Linked DNA regions of Homo sapiens: all the other regions are linked to region 3. The links are contacts of gene promoters, found by promoter capture Hi-C in blood cells and fetal thymus (Javierre and others, 2016). All regions are on one chromosome and are shown on one strand. Each heading gives the region's core, a stretch centred on a gene start or on the middle of the fragment in contact. The rest is flanking DNA. Distances are from core to core; before and after follow the strand shown.

Region 1 (2,721 bases), core at 14-2,513, 390 kb before region 3:
AGATCTCTACAAAACCTAGGCCTCCACTTAAGCTAGACCTAAAAACCAGAGGTTAGTTAACACACTGCATCTCGAAGAAATCACACCACATATGCAGAGAAAAGAATGCCATGGAATATGCTGCCACGCAGACAAAATGGAACAAAAGTTCTGATTAATCTCCGTCACTCTCTTTAATAAAACCAACACCATAGAATGTATTGACATAGCTGTTTTGCCTAGTTGAAACAGTGCAAACATCTTGGTAGGAAAAATCAACAGGTGTTTGTTTAGCACTGATAAAAGAGCTAGTGCAAATATGGGAAAAAGACCCATCAAATTTAAATGCCAAACGTGTTGGCAACTGATGTAGGTTCACACACTCACTCCACATTAGTCTTCCAGAACAGGTGATCTATGCTGTTTCGATGATAATTTAGTATCTTCTAGTCACTCACTCTACCAGTAAAACATCTCCAAGCCAAGAACAAGTTGTAATGTACCTGCCCAGACAGGCTGTGACTTTTACACTAAGTCTCCTATCAGATTCATTATTATTTTAGGATCGGCTTCAAGTTCTTAACTTGGCCTCTCTTTCTAACAACGAAGGGCCTGGAAGACTCAGGTAATTTCGATTTTGGCCAGACGCAGAGGCTCATGCCTGTAATCCCAACACTTTTGGAGGATGAAGTGGGCAGACTGCTTGAGCCCAGGAGTTCATGACCAGCCTGGGCAACATGGCAAGACCTGTCTCTACAAAAAATACAAAAATTAGCCAGGGCTGGGCACGGTGGCTCACACCTATAATCTCAGAACTTTGGGAGGCTGAGGTGGGCTTGAGGTCAAGAGATCACTTGAGGTCAAGAGTTCAAGACCAGCCTGGCCAACATGGCGAAACCCCCTTCTCTACTAAAAATACAAAAATTAGCTGGGCATGGTGGCATGTGCCTGTAATCCCAGCTACTCAGGAGGCTGAGGCAGGAGACTCGTTTAATCCTGGGAGGTAGAGGCTGCAGTGAGCTGAGATCGTGCCACTGCACTCCAGCCTGGGCAACAGAGGGAGACCCCATCTCAAAAAAAAAAAAAAAAAGGTGATTTTTTTTTTCTCCTGTGCCCGAGCTCTAGACACACACACACACACACACACACACACACACACACACACACACACACACACTGACCAAAGCTTTTTTATTTTTCCCCCATAGGTTTGTGCCACCAAGCCCAGATAATTTTTTTGTGTGTTTTTAGTAGAGACGGAGATTCACCATGTTGGCCAGGCTGGTCTCGAACTCCTGACCTCAAATGATCCACCTGTCTCAGCCTCCCAAAGTGCTGGGATTACAGGTGTGAGCCACCACACCCAACCAGATCAAAGCTTTTCAATTTCAGTTTCAAAAACTGAAGCAAGGAGAGAAAACAAAAATGATAGCTACTATCATCGTAACTATCCTTCTTATAATAGCTAATATTATTGTGTACCTCCTAACCAATTATTATGTATTATCTCATTTAATCCTCATAACAGCCCCATGGAGCAGATACTCTGTCCCTATTTTAGAGATGGGGAGACTGATGCATTGAGAGGTTAATTAAATCCCATAAGATCACATAGCTAGAAAGCAGAGCTGGGATTTTAACCTAGGCAGTCAGATTTCAGAGCCTGCATTTTTTTTTTTTTTTTTTTTTGGAGACAATCTCTTGCTCTGTTGCCCAGGCTGGAGTGGAGTGACGCAATCTCAGTTCACTGCAACCTCCGTCTCCCAGGTTCAAGAGATTCTTGGGCATCAGCCTCCTGAGTAGCTGGGACTACAGGCACACACCACCAAGCCCAGCTAATTTGTATTTTTAGTAGAGATGGGGGGTTTCACCACGTTGGCCAGGCTGGTCTCGGACTCCTGGCCTCAAGCGATCCACCTGCCTCAGCCTTCCAAAATTCTGGGATTACAGGCCACCACACCTGCCAAAGCCTGCAATGGTAGAGATTGCCTCTTATCTTCTAGGCATTAATACAATGACCATTTGATGTGCTAAGTAAATGGGGCTCATGTGAATAACTGAGAGAACTTAAAAGATGCTTAGTTCCACCAAGTTACTACATGACCCAGCAATTCCACTCCTATTTATCAGCAGAAGAATAGAAAATATATATCCAAACAAAAACCTCTGCATAAATGTTCATAAAAGCATTACGTACAATAGCCCAAAAGTGAAAACAATTCAAATATCCATCAACTGATGAATGAACAAAATGTGGTGTATGTATACTATGGAATATTATTCAGCCATAAAATGGAATGAAGTACTGATACATACTACAGCGTGGACAAGCCTGAAATCACTGTGCTTAATAAAAGAAGCCACTCACAAAAGGCCTCAGATCATATTACTCCATATATATAAAATGTCCAAAAGTGGTAAATCCACAGAAACAGAAAGTAGGTTAGTAGTTACCAGGGTCTGGAGTGGGGTGGATGGGGAGTGACTGTAAACAGGTATGTAGTTTCTTTTCAGGATGATGAAAATGTTCTGAAATTAGTGGTGATGGTTGCACAAAACCATCTATACTATAAATGAATATACTAAATACCACTGAATTGTACACTTTAAAAGAGTGAATTTTATGGTATGTGAATTATATCTCAATAAAGCTGTTATTTTTAAAAAGAATGTTTCATTCATTTGCAACTTCTTTTATTTAATAAAATTTCTATTTGTTGTCACTAAGATTGTTGGATCATG
Region 2 (2,700 bases), core at 109-2,608, 360 kb before region 3:
CTGACCAAGTGCTAGGCTGCCACTGCCAGATTTCCTGTTAGAAGAAGAAAATAAATTTCTAGTTGTTTAAACTACTATTGTTTGAGTCTCTGTTCCTTGCAGCCAAATGCATTCTTCTTTTTTTTTTTTTTTAATGAGCTGGGGTCTCACCATGTTGCCCAGGCTGGTCTGAAACCCCTGGGCTTAAGTGATCCTCCTATTTAAGGGGAGGATCTTAACCGATATAGATGAATTAGGCTCTAAAGCTTTATAATGTGTTCGTTGTCATTGTTATTTTCCTCCCTAACCCAGTGTTGCAAGAGATCCATCTGAAATGAGTTGGCAGCAACATATTCTACTGAGATCACAAGTCAACTTGATGAGAGCAATTGAAAATAAAAAGTTCTTACCATGATTGAGTAAATCTAAGGTGCCGTCAACTGCAAAATGCATCATTATCTTAGGTACCACTGAAATACAAATATCATTAATTACACTATGCTTCAATGCTTTCTCATATCTTAGAATTTTATTTACTTATTTATTTATTTATTTATTTATTTATTTTTTAAGACAGAGTCTTGCTCTGTCACCCAGACTGGAGTTCAGTGGCACGATCATGGTTCACTGCAGCCTCGGCCTCCTGGGCTCAAGCAGTCCTCCCAAGTAGCTGGGACTACAGGCGTGGCCACCAAGCCCAGCTAATTTTTGTATGTTTTGTAGAGATGGGTTTTTGCCATCTTGCCCAGGCTAGTCTCAAACTCCTGGGCTCAAGTGATATGCCCACCTTGGCCTCCCAAACTGCTGGAATTATAGGCATGAGCCACTGTGCCCAGCCCATGACTGAATTTTTATTGTATGCTTATCAAAATAATTTTTAATACTTATTTAGACATACGGCTTTTGTTTTTGTTTTGGAGACAGAGTCTGTGTCACCCAGGCTGGAGTGCAGTGGCATGATCTCGGCTCACTGCAACCTCTCCACCTCTTAGGTTCAAGTGATTCTCATGCCTCAGCCTCCCTAGTAGCTGGGATTACAGGCATGTGCCAACATGCCTGGCTAATTTTTGTATTTTTAGTAGAGACAGGGTTTCACCCTGTTGGCTGGCTGGTCTTGAACTCCTGACTTCAGGTGATCTGCCTGCCTTGGCCTCCTAAACTGCTGGGATTACAGGCGTGAGCCACCATGCCCAGCCTAGACATAGATTTTTTAAAATCATATATCAATACTTAGAAGAATACTCAACCTCAAGAGTAACCAATAAAATGTAAAAAGTAAGTCTCTCCCTTTCATGTTGGCATCCTTAGCCTACTTGTTTTTGTCTTCATGCTTGTTGCTTCAGTAACAAAATAGCTGCTGAGGCTGCAGGCATCACACCACATTCAAGGCAAGAAAAAGGAAGAAGTGAGAATGGTGCCAGCCACATCATCTTCTCTTACCAGGAAAGGCAAAAGTCTTCCTAGATCTTCCAGCAGGTTTCTGCTTATATGTCATTTGCTAGAACTGTGTGCCATGAACACCCTGGATACAAGCAAAAACCTGGAAAAGCACATATTTTGCCTGGGTCTGGGCTCATTGCCATCCTGAGAGAAAGCAGACTTCTGGTAGCAAAGAAGGTGGAAATAGGTATTGGGAAGGAAGCTAACGGTGTCTGCTACAACACAGCTTAATAAATAGTAGTTTTATATGCATAATAAATAGTAGCTACTCCTTGGCATAAAGTAAAAATAATGATAACAAAAATACTTACATAATTATATTGTGTAAGTGCTTACTATGTGCCAGGAACTGTTCTGAATGTTTTAAATATGTTAACTCATTTAATCTTCACAGCAATTTTGTGAGGTAAATGTTACTATCCTTGGTTTTTTTTTTTCAGTGTTTTTAATTCTACTTTATATACATACAATTAGATTGATCATAATCCCTGGTTCATGACATACCCTCATTGGTCCATGCATGGCTCTCTTTTGTTTACTTTTTAAATATTAGTTATTGTAAATAATATATAGACACCTTCAAATCCCCTGTCCAAAATAAAATTAGTGTCTGGTCAGCAATTTGCATCTGGCTGTATGGTACCCCCAACACATTTTACTTCCTCCCCTGGCCAAGGTGATCATCATCCAGAATTCTGAGCTCATTATCCTTCACTTTGCTTTTCATACAGTTTTAGAGTTTTCTTGCATCTATATAAAGTCCTAAAAATATGTGTGTGTAGTGTGTGTGTATATATATAGAGAAAGATGGTTGTTTTTAACTGTATGTCTTTAGTACTTTTTTCACTTGATATTACATTGTTAAGATTCTACCATATTGTTGTATGTTGCTACAGTTGTTCCTTTTGACTCCTGTTTAACACTCCCATTGTGCAAATATGTAGCAGTTTATTCATCCTGAAACCATTCTTTACTGAAGTGCCTATAACATTCTTATTGATTTTCTCTTTTCTGGTTATTAACTGGTCTAATTCTGTTACATTCAAGCTTTGCATATGATTCTAGCAGTTTTCCAATATCCTTTTTAATGTCTGCATGAAGTCCTGAATCTTCTGCAAGACTTGCAATAATTTCTTGCAAACGACTTGCCTTGTGTTGTGTGTTGTCAGATATTTACAGTGGGCTACCAGAGAGAGGCTGACCAATAAAGATTTTGACTTGATGGGGTCTTGGTGCACACAGAGAGCCCTTCATTTCAGCAAGGAGGAATGTTGCAGGACT
Region 3 (2,700 bases), core at 65-2,564:
TTCATCCAGCTCAAGGGCCACAAGGTGGGCATGAACTTGAAACTGCAGGAGGTGTAAAAATTATACTTTAGCATTTATCAGTTTAAAATGTAGTGTTCCGTTCATTATTCATTCAGCAAAGCTGAGCACCCTGTGCTCTGTACTGTGCAAGAAGAGCACAAAGATGAAGGAGGCCCAGCTCCTCTCTCAAGGAGCTGTCTAGTTTATCTTTACAACCTTGTACATCCTTATTCCTTGTTGACAATTAGGGACATTACAGTTGAACTGTCGTTAAGAGCACAAGTGCACCAGCTGTAGTACTTTAAGCAAGTTATTTAATCTGTAAGGCTCAGCTTCCTCAAAGTAAAATGGGAATAGTAATATCTACCTTGTGGGATTTTGAAGATTAAGCGTGAAAATACGCAATAAAATGCTTAGCTTGATGCCTGGCACATGGTAAACATTCAACCATCATTATTAAGTGGTGTGCAAAGCATTTACAGCGTTAAGTTTAGGTACTCTATTTCATTTTTGTCCTCCCTCCAAACATTATAGCTCCTCTAATTTGCTTCTGTTCCTCGCGCCCTGCGCAAACCCTCCTAACAACTTTCAGGTACCATCTATCCCAGCCAATGTTAAGCCTTGTTCTTGCTCTGATCCGTTTGTCCTGTTTTCTCCTGTCTCTTCCTTTCTTTATCTCCTATTTTCTTCCTGCCCCTTCCCTCTCTTTTCTCCTCAGACTCCTCGTCTTTGGATTCTGCAGGCTCAGATTTGCTTTATGACTATGGAAAAACAAGTATTAACTGCCGAGTCTATTTTCAGATCTGAAAAATGGTAATAATACTATCTACTTATAGAATTGTTTTGTGGAGTAGATGAGATAAGAAAGTGCAAGCACTGTGTACATCGTACAGCGCCTTACAAAAATTCTTTACTGGCATCTCTAAACTACCCTCTTTCATTCTCTGCCTCCCCTTCCCGTCCCTGCCCAATTGTGAGACTAAGAAATTCTTCGAATTTAATATTAGGACATAACTCCAACCAGAGCGCAGCTTTTCTGGTTGTTCCCGCCTTCCATGCCTAAACGAACCAATCAGATCGCCCAGAGTGGCGCGGTATCGCCACTTGGAGACCACCGCGAATGAAGTTTGCATTTTCCTCTGTTCTTGAGCCCAGCTTCTTCTCGTCTCCCACCCCAGCTTCCCGGCATTGGAAGAAGGGACCGTCCTCTTCCTTGTCTTGGCCACCCAAATCCTGGTATCGAAAGGGTTGAACGGACCGGAAGTGTGCAGCAGCGACGGGTCCCCAGCTAATCGACGCCGGAAGTAGCAATTACTAGACAAGCATTCCGCCGCCGGCTTCGCTATGGCGGCAATTCCCCCAGATTCCTGGCAGCCACCCAACGTTTACTTGGAGACCAGGTGAGGGGGTTCGGGCGTCTGGGGCTGGCAGAGGAGACGCGGAGCCCGGGCCTCACCACGGGTCTGCGTTCCTGGCGCGTTCCTCCGGGAGGCCGGCCTCCACGTGGAGGGGCGTGGAGCAGCGGCCGAGACGGCCCCCAGAGGGTTGAGAGGGGACCGCCATCGCCCGCGTCCAAGCTCCGCGGGGTCTTGTGCTGAGGTCTCAGCAATAGCTGCCTGATTGTCCTCCTTCCCCCAGTCCGCTCATTCATTCATTCATTCATTCAACAAACGTGTAATGAGTCCGCAAGCCAGGCATATGGAATATGAGTTCTGAGGATACAGAGGTAGATAAAACACAGACAGCCCTGCCTTTAGGAGCTTACGGTATAATGAAAGAGACAGACATGTAAACATTACGTGATAAGTAATACAGTTGTAGAAACAAATTCCAGTAAAATACAGGAAGAAGCACATTTTCCCCACTATCAAAGAGTGATGTGGTAACCAACCTGCTGGCGCCATGCCCCGCTGTATGTCATCTCATTTAGTTTAATCTTAGCAACTCAAATCATGAAGGTATTATTTAACTTTCTCCCTTTCAATATTAGCAGGAGGAAACGCCGGAATTTACAGCTTAAAGCCTTGACCAAAGCCACACAGCTAGTAACTGGAAGAACCTCGTTTGGAGCCTGGTGTGCTCGTCTCACCTTGCTAGATCCTTTAGCTCTATTCATTCCATTGCCTCTTTGGAAAAAGCTCAAAGTGATCTTTACAAAGTAGGACAAGGAAGGGATCCTGCTCAAAAAACCTTTAATAACGTCTTGCTGCTATAACAGTATAAAGTAAAAACGTATTAATCCTGACATTCAAGGTGATTTTTTTCATCTGGCCCTTGTCTACCTGCCATTCTCCCCTCAACAGCCAGGGACCAGCCAAGGTCCTCTGCCTTTCTGTTCTTGCCCATTGCTGCTTTCAGCTAAAGCAGAGTTCTGTCAGTCCTCTCTCTATTTGCTCATGCTGTTCATTTCATGCTCCCTGGCCATCTTCCCCACCTTATATGGCAAAATTCTACATCTTCAGGCTCCAACCTGTAATTTCTGAATTCTCCTGTTGGTATTTTTTAAAGTTACAAAATAAATTGTTAAATCCAAGCAATGTAGACATACAGAGTAAGAAGTGAAAGTCACCTCCTTCCTGAAAACACCATCAACAGTTTGTTGGATGATTGTCCAGACTTTTTTCTATGTACATATAAACCTCTCTCATGTTTTTTTAACAAAAAAATGGGATCATATGATCATACTGTATGTATGTTTTT

What was found. Contacts are between HindIII fragments. The CHiCAGO score rates a contact against its expected background, and 5 or more counts as called.
Region 1: a contact is called between a fragment that was not itself captured here and the fragment with the promoter of PPIL1 in region 3, in 1 of 17 cell types (total CD8 T cells). The highest score is 5.3, in total CD8 T cells.
Region 2: a fragment that was not itself captured here is called in contact with the fragment with the promoter of PPIL1 in region 3 in 5 of 17 cell types (erythroblasts, activated CD4 T cells, naive CD4 T cells and 2 more); the score reaches 7.0 in erythroblasts.

Annotation. Positions count from the first base shown.
Region 1 is chr6:37,260,380-37,263,100 of GRCh38, reverse strand. All of the region lies in intron 1 of TBC1D22B (TBC1 domain family member 22B), which reads right to left. Among named protein-coding and RNA genes, the nearest start is that of TMEM217B, 3.6 kb to the right of the region's middle. The HindIII fragment of the contact is 192 bases long and covers 1,168-1,359 here.
Region 2 is chr6:37,237,324-37,240,023 of GRCh38, reverse strand. The region is part of intron 1 of TMEM217B (transmembrane protein 217B); the gene reads left to right. The region is part of intron 1 of TMEM217 (transmembrane protein 217); the gene reads left to right. Among named protein-coding and RNA genes, the nearest start is that of TBC1D22B, 19 kb to the left of the region's middle. The HindIII fragment of the contact is 2,221 bases long and covers 248-2,468 here.
Region 3 is chr6:36,873,417-36,876,116 of GRCh38, reverse strand. PPIL1 (peptidylprolyl isomerase like 1) reads left to right here and starts at 1,314. Exons shown (of 4, transcript NM_016059.5): 1 at 1,314-1,400. The coding sequence starts at 1,345. It also overlaps a transcript of C6orf89 not described here. RefSeq lists an enhancer at 1,094-1,323. The HindIII fragment of the contact is 9,401 bases long and covers 1-2,700 here.